Regions from separate parts of the Homo sapiens genome. Here region 1 is linked to region 2. Evidence: promoter capture Hi-C in 16 types of primary human blood cells and fetal thymus (Javierre and others, 2016). All regions are on one chromosome and are shown on one strand. Each heading gives the region's core, a stretch centred on a gene start or on the middle of the fragment in contact. The rest is flanking DNA. Distances are from core to core; before and after follow the strand shown. Region 1 holds the start of GYS1 (glycogen synthase 1). Region 2 holds the start of IRF3 (interferon regulatory factor 3).

Region 1 (4,952 bases), core at 1-2,500, 670 kb after region 2:
CTTTTGCTCAGCCCCACCACCGCCCCGCTCAGGCCGATTGCAAAATTCTTAGCTGTTCTTTGAGTAACCACACGTCCTCCACGCTCCTTTCCTCTTTATCCCACCCTCCTCCTCCTCCCCACTTTGAGGCCTCCAGCTCCAGATTGACAGAGCTGAAGGCCACTCGTTTCCGTAAAGCGCAGCGGCAAGCTCCGCCCCCTGGAGGTCTCACGGCCGAGGCGGGGCCGGGACACAGCGACTCCAACCCGTTCCACCAATGAGGACACGCGGAAATCCCCGCCCCCGGGCGTGGGCCAATGGCGCTGGCTGGGGGGGGCGGCCACCGCCTCCTGGCGGCTGCGAGGTTTCACTGCAGGGGCGCCAGTGGGCTCAGTGACGCTGCGGCCTCCTTCTGCCTAGGTCCCAACGCTTCGGGGCAGGGGTGCGGTCTTGCAATAGGAAGCCGAGCGTCTTGCAAGCTTCCCGTCGGGCACCAGCTACTCGGCCCCGCACCCTACCTGGTGCATTCCCTAGACACCTCCGGGGTCCCTACCTGGAGATCCCCGGAGCCCCCCTTCCTGCGCCAGCCATGCCTTTAAACCGCACTTTGTCCATGTCCTCACTGCCAGGACTGGAGGACTGGGAGGATGAATTCGACCTGGAGAACGCAGTGCTCTTCGAAGTGGCCTGGGAGGTGGCTAACAAGGGTGAGCACGCCAGGCGTCGGGGCCCTTGACGAGAAGGACAGTAGTGGATGGGGGCCCGGAACTCTGAGTTGTAGGAGGACGGGGCTACTAGGGGAACCCTTGTGACCTGGGCAAGGAGGCTGTGTCCTTGAGGAGGGGCTGGGAAGCCGGAGGTGGGTGGGAGAGGGATGGTTCGTTTGACTTAAGATGAAAGGAGGCTGGAAGCCCGGGTTCTGGGTCCTAGGGAAGAGGGCGCTAAAATGAGACTCCTAGGTCCTGGAGGCAGGCTTCCGAGAGACTAGATACCTGGGTCCTGAACAGGGAAGGGGATGGGGGGATGGGATTTCTGCGTGCAAACCTGGGAAGCTGCCGGGGTTTCAGACCTATGACCCTAACAGCATGGTCTAGGGGATAAAACTCCAGATTTGAGAGAGAGCTGACTGGGAGATAGGAGGCCTGAGCGGCGGTGGGAGGACCTGAGGATCTGGCTGCTTAAGAATAAAGATGGGACGGGCTGGAGACTGTAATGAATGCCTGGGCTTTGAAGGAGCTGAGGGCCTGAGCTATTAGTTCCTAGGAGTAGAGGAGCCCATGGCCTGGGACACATGCGTACTGGAATAGGGGAAGGCTGGGAAGTCCTAAGTTAGTCAGAGGCTGGGCCCTAGGATGGGAGGGGCTAGGAGCCTGCATTTCTGTGTCTTGGGCTTCAGAAAGCTGAGGTTCTGGCCTTGGAGAAGGCTGGGGCTGAAATCCCCAGGAACAAGCCAATCTCACACCTCAAAGAGCAGGGTCTGGGGGGTTGCTTTGCTGGGTCTTGGAGGAGAAAGGGACTGTGTCTCCCAGGAGGAGAGGGGGCCCGTGAACACCCAGCCGGGTATCGCCAGGGCCTGGGCTCCAGGATGGGAGGAGGCTGGGGGCTGGGGCTCCTGGGTCTGGGATAGGGTCATGGGAGAGGCAGAGCCCTGCATGCTGGTGTCCCTAGTCAGGGAGAGGAAATTGGGAGGCAGGTCAGCAAGGTCCCTGGGGGCAGGGAATGACCATGCAGGCTTCTCTTGGGCAATGGTGAGAAGCTGGATTGGCCATGAGGGGGTCTCCCTCACTGGGTTTTGGAGCCTGGCTGCGATTTAAACCCAGCTCCTGTGAGCTGGGAACTCGGGAACCTGAGTCCGGGTAGTCAGTCCTCAGCTCTGCCATCCTTAGAGCCCCAGTGCCTAATTCCTTCAGACCAAGGGGTCCCGGCACCCAGCCCCTTCTCTCTCAGACCCAGAAGTCTAGCCTGAGCCCCCTCCTCCTTCAGGGTCCTGACCCCAGCCCCCTTCTCCCTTAGACCCAGGAGGACTGCCCTCCAGCCCTCGTGTTCCCCTCATCCAAGCTTCCAACCCCTACTCCAAACTATGGGCTCCCAGTCCCCTCTTCCCCCTGAGCTAGAGGTCTGGGGCCTGAGTGCCCCCTACATCCCCGGCCCACCCCACCCCAGGCCCCAGAACTATGGACCTCGGCCGGGGCCTGCCCTCACACGCTTGGGCCCACAGTGGGTGGCATCTACACGGTGCTGCAGACGAAGGCGAAGGTGACAGGGGACGAATGGGGCGACAACTACTTCCTGGTGGGGCCGTACACGGAGCAGGGCGTGAGGACCCAGGTGGAACTGCTGGAGGCCCCCACCCCGGCCCTGAAGAGGACACTGGATTCCATGAACAGCAAGGGCTGCAAGGTGGGACGTGGCCCAGCCCAGGGCAGAAGCGGGTGGACAGCCTGCCATCGGGGTGGGAGCCACAGACGGAGAGGGTGCAGGGTGGACAGCCCCAGCCAGAGAGCGAGGCAGGCTTGGACACAGGAAGGAGGCGTGATAGGACACCCAGACAGATGCAGGGCCTGGAAGTGGGTGGGTGGATCCCAGACATGGGCGAATGGACAGACAGATGGCAAGTATGAGACAGACTGAGACGGAGATCCAAGAGGCCAAGGTCCTCAGACCCAGAGAGAAAGAGAGCAAGATCGAAAGACAGCCTGGTCAACATGGCGAAACCCCGTCTCTACCAAAAATACAAAAATTAGCTGGGTGTGGTGGCGGGTGCCTGTAATCCCAGCTACTCGGGAGGCTGAGGCAGGAGAATCGCTTGAACCCGGGAGGCGGAGGTTGCAGTGAGCTGCGATTGGGCCACTGCACTCCAGCCTGGGCGACGGAGCGAGACTCTGTCTCAGAAAAGAATGCCAGCCAGCCAGGCAGAGCTGGGGAGAAGTGGGCCTGAGGTCAGGAAGGAGCAGGATTCTGGAGCTTGAAGTTCAAGTTCACCCTCCACTTGCTGCCTGTGTGTCCTTGGCTAATGGACATGCTAATAGCGTCTACCTTCTAGCGGTGCTGGGAGGAGGAAACAGTTAATAAGGACAAAGTGGTTAGTAGAGTTCTTGGCATGAAGGTAGCACATTGTGTGGGCGGTGATTGTCATTGTTATGATCATCGTCATTATTGTTACTAACAGCCAAGCTTGGAGAGTGAGGGGGACAGGCAGACCAAGGGAGAAGGGTGGATGGAGCCACAGGCAAGAGTAATAGACTGGGGACAGAAGAGAGGCCACCAGATGTTTCAGAAAGCCAGTCCTAGAAGGAGAGAGAAGCATGGAATATCGGGGAAGAGAGGAGAGGTCAGTGGACAGACCCACAGGACAGAGTCTGAGATGGGCAGATCAGGGATTAGAGAGGAGGGGGAGTTCCAGGGCCCCAGGGTGAAGACGGAAAGAGACACGCTGTTGTCCAAGGAGAAAGCCATCAGGCGGCACGCTGTTGTCCAAGGAGAAAGCCATCAGGCGGCAGGGCTAAGGGACAGACAGGTCCAGGCTGGGGATGGAGAGGCACTGTGGTTCCTTTACTCATTCACAGCCTCTGGTTTGGGGTGGGGTCTGGAATCCATTCAGGTCCGACTGTGTCCCTAAGGGAACCCAGAACAGCCCAGTCGCTTCCTGAGGGCAGCTGCTTCCCACGTGCTGGGGGCCTAAGAATAGCCCCCCCCCCCCCCCAGCAAAAGGGCAGACAACAGCTGGGAGGGGGAGGGACCTCAGAGCGAGGCTCCAGGCAGCAAAAAGCCAGGTCGGCGAGGAGCGGGGCTGCTTCTCCACTGCTGTGGCAGCAGGCCCAGAACCAAAGCCATGGTCTCAGGGAGGAAAACAGCCAACTGGAGAAATGTGGCAGAGGCAGAAGTGAGACAGCAAGTCTTAGAAACACGGCAGTGGCTAGAAAAATGCAGCCCTGGGGCACGGACAGAGGATGGGCTATGTTAGAAATGTGTGGCGTGGCCGAGGGCGGTGGCTCATGCCTGGAATCCCAGCACTTTGGGAGGCCGAGGTGAGAGGATAGCTTGAGCCCAGGAGTTCCTGACCCACCTGGGCAACATGGCGAAACTCTGTCTCTACTAAAAATACAAAAAATTAGCCAGGCATGATGGTGCGTGCTCGTGATCCCAGTTACTCAGGAGGCTGAGGTGGGAGGATGGGATGTGGAGGCTGTAGTGAGCCATAATTTTTTTTTTTTTTTTTTCAGATAGAATCTCACTCTGTCGCTGAGTCTGGAGTGCAGTGGTACAATCTCGACTCACTGCAACCTCCGCCTCCCGCGTTCAAGCAATTCTCCTGCCTCGGCCTCCCAAGTAGCTGGGACCTCAGGCACATGCTGCCACGCCCGGCTAATTTTTTGTATTTTAGTAGAGACAGGGTTTCACCATGTTGCCCAGGCTGGTCTCAAACTCCTGAGCTCAGGCAATCCGCCCGCCTCGGCCCCCCAAAGAGCTAGGATTACAGGCGTGAGCCACCGCGCCCAGCCCAGTGAGCCATGATTGCACCACTGCACTCCAGCCTGGGTGACCGGAGTGAGACCCTGTCAAAAACAAAAACAAACAAAAAAAAATGGAAGAAAGAAAGAAAAAGGAGAGAGGGAGGGAAGGAGGGAGAGAGGGAAGGAAGGAAGGAAGGAAGCAAGGAAGGAAGGAAGGAGGCTGTGGACTACAAAATGGGCCTATGGATAGAGGAAAGAGGTCGCAGGTGACAGATATGTGATGAAAGGAACAGAAACAAGGCATCATGGGGAAGAAAAGTGGCAGCATGAACAGTAAGAGAATCATTACAGGCTGGGTGCAGTAGCTCACGCCTGTAATCCCAGCACTTTGGTAGGCTGAGGCCAGGAGTTTGAGACCAGCCTGGGCAACATGGTGAAACCCTGTCCTTACAAAAAAGTTAAAAATTAGCCGGGATGTGATACCTTGTGCCTGTGGTCCCAGCTACGTGGGAAGCTGCG
Region 2 (4,878 bases), core at 1,191-3,690:
AGAAACCCCATCTCTACTAAAAATACAAAAAAAATTAGCCGGGCATGGTGGCGCATGCCTATAATCCCAGCTACTTGGGAGGCTGAGGCAGGAGAATTACTTGAACCCGGGAGGTAGAGGTTGTGGTGAGCCGAGATCGGGCCATTGCACTCCAGCCTGGGCAACAAGGGCGAAACTCCGTCTCAAAAAAAAAAAAAAAAAAAAGAATGTCAGAGCTGACAGGGTGCGGTGGCTCACGTCTGCAATCTCAACATTTTGGGAGGCCGACGTGGGAGGGTCACTTGAGGCCAGGAGTTTGAGGCCAGCCTGGCCAACGTGGCGAAACCCCGTGTCTACTAAAAGTATAAAAATCAGCTAGTATGCTGGCGTGCACCTGTAATCCCAGTCACTCGGGAGGCTGAGGCACGAGAATCGCTTGAACCCAGGAGGTGGGGATTGCAGTGAGTCGAGATTGCACCCCTGCACTCCAGCCTGGGTGACAGAGCAACAATCTGTCTCCAAAAGACTGTCAGAGCTCAACTAGACCTTGAAGATGATCTCATCCAAGGAAGGCAAACACAAGACATTACTGTTAGTATCCCCTTCCCTCACTCACTACAGACATCACCAATTGATCACAGCACTTCCTCTCCCAAGCTGTGAACCCCTTTTCAAGCTAGCACTCCCAGCAGCCATTACTAGTCTGTCCAGGTTCACACCTATGAGGAAACTTGTGGGTCACCTTGATCAAGTCCAGTGACCTCCTCCCCAATTCCTACTCTGCTATTGGAAAAACAGGGGAGCAGGGAAGAGAAAGCATTTTCCCCAGAGTCACGCAACTAAAACAGCCAGGGAGATGTGATTGAAAACCAGCCCTTCTGCCCCTCTATCAGGGGTATTCCTGGCTACAAAAGTCCTAGGGGCAGGGAAGTAGTTATGGAAGGAAAGAGACAACAACCAGATTGACCAAATGCTCTCTGAAAGCCAACCCACAGAATTGACAGAAATCTAACTGGGGAGGGGAGAGGACAGGACGGTTCTGTCCTGAAGGCTGGTGCTAGAGACTCCACACAGCCACCCCCTAGCTGAGTGATCTTAAACTAGCACCTTATCCCGTGTTCTGCCGGCTTCATAGATGATCATGGAAATCTCTTACCAGGCTCTAAACCATAGCAGGGGCGGATGGGCAGAGAGCAAGGCCGAGGGGACTCAGAGGGGGCTGCTCCTCGCCCCAGGGAGCAGGGAAGACATCTTCGAAGGCGGCTCAGGAAGTCTGTTGGCTCTTCTTGGGCAGGGCTTCTGGAGAGGAGGACTTCAGAGACTGACCCCACCAGAGATCCCCTGCAAGCAGTCTCTTTCCCCAACTCCCTCCCTCCCCCGCTGAGGACCTCTCTCCAAAACCCCAAAGACAGAGAATAGAGCCAGATATAAAGAGAGGAGACAGACTGAGACCAGGAGCAAGAGTTAGGAGGGAGCCTCAAATGCTGGCCCCTGGGGGAGAAGGGCCACTCCTCTTACCTAGGTGGAGTTGGAACAGGAGACCCGGCAGCCTCACCACGCCTAAGGAAGGCAGCTAGGACCCTCAGCGTGTCTTCCCGGAGCCCCAGCTCTTCAGAGCCTGCCATGGAGGCACCTGTGAGAGAGAGGGTTAGGGACTGGACTCCAAGGGTTTAGCAAGAAGTGGAGGCTTGGGGACCAGGACTTGTGAGTCCCAAGGAAGGTGCTGAGGGCCTGGACTCCTGGGTCCTTTGGAGAGTGTGGGTCTGGGGGCCTAGACTCTTGAGTCCTCAGACGAAAAAGCGATCAGGAAAAAGACTCTTCGATCCAAGGAAAGGTGGTGGGGCTGGGTGCCCAGATTCGTGGGTCTAAAGGAGGAGGGAGCTGGGGTCCTGGACTTCTGAGTCTTAGAGAAAAAGGAACTGGAGCCCCAGACCCTTAGGTCTCCCAGGAAGAAGAGGCTTAGCGCCCCAACTCCTGGATTCTATAAGAGGCATATGCCAAACTCCTGAAACCCTTAAAGCATCGGGAACTACCAATCCCAAGAGGTTTCAGGGCAAATCTTCCCCTAGGTCCGCGCTTCTTCGCCGCGCAGCCTGCTGTGAGGTGTAGTTCCAAATCTCCGACCCCTGCTGGAATCTAGAGGACCCTGGACCCTTGGATATCAGAGAAGCGGGACTGGGGTGCCCACCACTGGATCCCGGCCCCCTCCTCTTCCCTCCTCACCCCACCCCTCGTCAACACCCCGCTGACCTGGTCCGGGGCCCCACCGCCGCCTCCTCCACTCAACTTGCGGTCTCCTCCACTGAACTCGTACAAACTTTATTAGTTCAACTTTCCCGCGCCTGCGCACTGGGCCGGGTCGATAACCGGCCCAGCGTAGAAAGGGCGGAACGCTGGGTGCACGCTCAATTTGCATGTGACGCTCCCAGCATGCCTCTGGCCGGAAACCCAAAAAAGGGCATAGGGGCGGGAACAGCCCAGCGGGCCGTCCCATCGGCTTTTGGGTCTGTTACCCAAAGAATGATAAAGTTGGTTTTATTTCAAGAAGTCGATCAAAAAGAAAGCCCCAGCGCTCTAGAGCTCAGCTGACGGGAAAGGGGGTGCGCAGCCTCGAGTTTGAGAGCTACCCGGAGCTCCAAGACAGGGGTGGGTTCCAGCTGCCCGCACGCCCCGACCTTCCATCGTAGGTAACGCGGAAGAGCCCGGGAGAGCGTTGGTGGCGTCCGAGAGCGAGGAGCGGGAAAGAGGATGGGTCTGCACGGAGAGTGGAAAGGCAGGCTGTGTACTCTGGGGAAAGTGGAGCAAGGAAGGAGCTACAGTGGCCGACGCTGGAGGTCGGCTGCAGAAAAACTAGAAAAAGTAGGGAGGAAAGAGGAAAAGAGGAGGCGTCTACACTGAGGGGGTTCTAGAGAGGGAGGGGTGGACTCCGTAGATGGGGGTAGTTCAGTCTCGAAACCTGGGGCGTGCTCTGTCCTGGAGGAGGGAGGCGGGCAGTCGGAGGGGAATTGAATGGAAGTTCTGTGTTGGAAATGTTTTGGGAGATCTTCTGTAGGGGGACTGTGGAAGGGGGTCTACATTGGGGTAAGTGCAGGAGGTAGAGGCTTACACGTGAATCGATTCTGCACTGAAATAACTAGGGAAAGAGGATGCTACCCTGAAAGTGGGGATACTTACTTTCGATGATGTGGGGGAGGGAGGAGGTCTATACTGGCGGAATTGAGGGAGTGGAGGGTCTGCACTGAAGACGCTGGGGAAGGATGTGCCATGGATATGGGAAGGAACCCTAGCTGATTAGAGAGCCTCTCGGGAGGATGGGAGGATGGGAAGAGGAGGTTTCCTGTTTGTACCCCCGAAAATATGGGTGAAGGACCTGTGCCGTGGCCCGTGAGAAGGAGGTCTGGGTGCGGAAACTCCAGGCCAGGTGGGTCCGGGGGAGGCCGGTCGCGCCCAGGAAATGCCCTATACGCGCAGGCCGGACCATGGGAACCCCAAAGCCACGGATCCTGCCCTGGCTGGTGTCGCAGCTGGACCTGGGGCAACTGGAGGGCGTGGCCTGGGTGAACAAGAGCCGCACGCGCTTCCGCATCCCTTGGAAGCACGGCCTACGGCAGGATGCACAGCAGGAGGATTTCGGAATCTTCCAGGTGCGTGCGACGACCTGGGACGCTGGAAACCCGGAGCTGCGCGCTGGGCGGAAAGGACTCCTAGTGGGCCCGGCTGAGAAGGCGGAGGTGGCGCGCGAGGGGCGGGCTCGTGCCAACGCTGGTGGGTGGGGCTAGAACGGGAGGGGCGGGGCTAGCCGGATCCGCTGACTGATGGTGGGGCGCAAGCAGGGTTGGAGCTGCAGGGTTACGGGAATAAAACCGGGAAAGCCGGTTAGTACGCAAAGGAAATGCATCCTGGGGGTTTGGGGCTTTCTAGAGGCCGGGGCTCTTGGTTGTAGGATAGATACTGGGGGATGGTTCTTGAAACATCAGAGGTGAGGCCTGGAGCCCCAAATCTGAGGTTCCTAACTACCGAATTAGTATATGCCAGAGGTGGTAAACAGTGTGAGGGGCGGGGTTATCACAGAGGGTGTCGCGGGGCAGGTGGTGCACGGGATTAGACACCAAGTTGGACTTGGAAGCCTGGCTTAGAAAGAAAAGGTTTTTGGGCCGGGGGCGGTGGTTCACACCTGTAATCCTAGCACTTTGCAAGGCCAAGGCGGGAGGATCGCTTGAGCCCAGGAGTTTGAGGCCAGCTTGGGCAACATAGGCTCCATCTCTTTAAAAACAAAAGCGAAACAAAACAAAAACCAAAGAGGTTTCAAAGGCTTTTGAAGAGGCCGAGCACAGTAGCTCATGCCTGTAATCCCAGCACTTTGGGAGGCCGAGGAGGACGGATCACCTGAGGTCAGGAGTTCAAGACCAGCCTGGCCAACATGGTGAAACCCCATCTCTACTAAAAATACAAAAATTAGCCAGGTGTAGTGGTGCCCACCTGTAATCCCAGCTACTCAGGAGGCTGAGACAGGAGAATCGCTTGAACCGGGGAGGCGGAAGTTGCAGTGAGCTGAGATTGCACCATTGCATTCCAGCCTGGGTGACAGGAGTGAAACTCCATCTCAAAAAGAAAAAAAGCCTTTTGAAAACTAGAGGTGGGGGATGGAGGTAGGTGGGACGGGGGGATTTGGGGATGGACCTTGCAGAGTTAGAACTTGCCAGGGAAAGAGGGTGGTGTTAGGACTCGGGAGACAGGGTTAGGGCCCCAGGAGCAGGATCTAAGTCGTCCTCCCCCACCATCCTGACACCACTGTTGCCCCAGGCCTGGGCCGAGGCCACTGGTGCATATGTTCCCGGGAGGGATAAGCCAGACCTGCCAACCTGGAAGAGGAATTTCCGCTCTGCCCTCAACCGCAAA

What was found. The method cuts DNA at HindIII sites, captures the fragments that hold promoters and counts their contacts. A CHiCAGO score of 5 or more calls a contact.
Region 1: a fragment that was not itself captured here is called in contact with the fragment with the promoter of IRF3 in region 2 in 1 of 17 cell types (non-activated CD4 T cells); the score reaches 5.4 in non-activated CD4 T cells.

What each region holds. Positions count from the first base shown.
Region 1 is chr19:48,988,729-48,993,680 of GRCh38, reverse strand. GYS1 (glycogen synthase 1) reads left to right here and starts at 372. Exons shown (of 16, transcript NM_002103.5): 1 at 372-686; 2 at 2,198-2,379. The coding sequence starts at 569. It also overlaps a transcript of RUVBL2 not described here. RefSeq lists a silencer at 106-465 and enhancers at 676-815, 3,525-3,916. The HindIII fragment of the contact is 1,579 bases long and covers 461-2,039 here.
Region 2 is chr19:49,663,419-49,668,296 of GRCh38, reverse strand. IRF3 (interferon regulatory factor 3) reads left to right here and starts at 2,440. Exons shown (of 8, transcript NM_001571.6): 1 at 2,440-2,666; 2 at 3,451-3,623; 3 at 4,783-4,878. The coding sequence starts at 3,459. It overlaps BCL2L12 (BCL2 like 12), which reads right to left and starts at 2,364. Exons shown (of 7, transcript NM_138639.2): 1 at 2,230-2,364; 2 at 1,498-1,612; 3 at 1,136-1,278. The coding sequence starts at 1,604. RefSeq lists silencers at 2,192-2,271, 2,312-2,461. The HindIII fragment of the contact is 30,887 bases long and covers 1-4,878 here.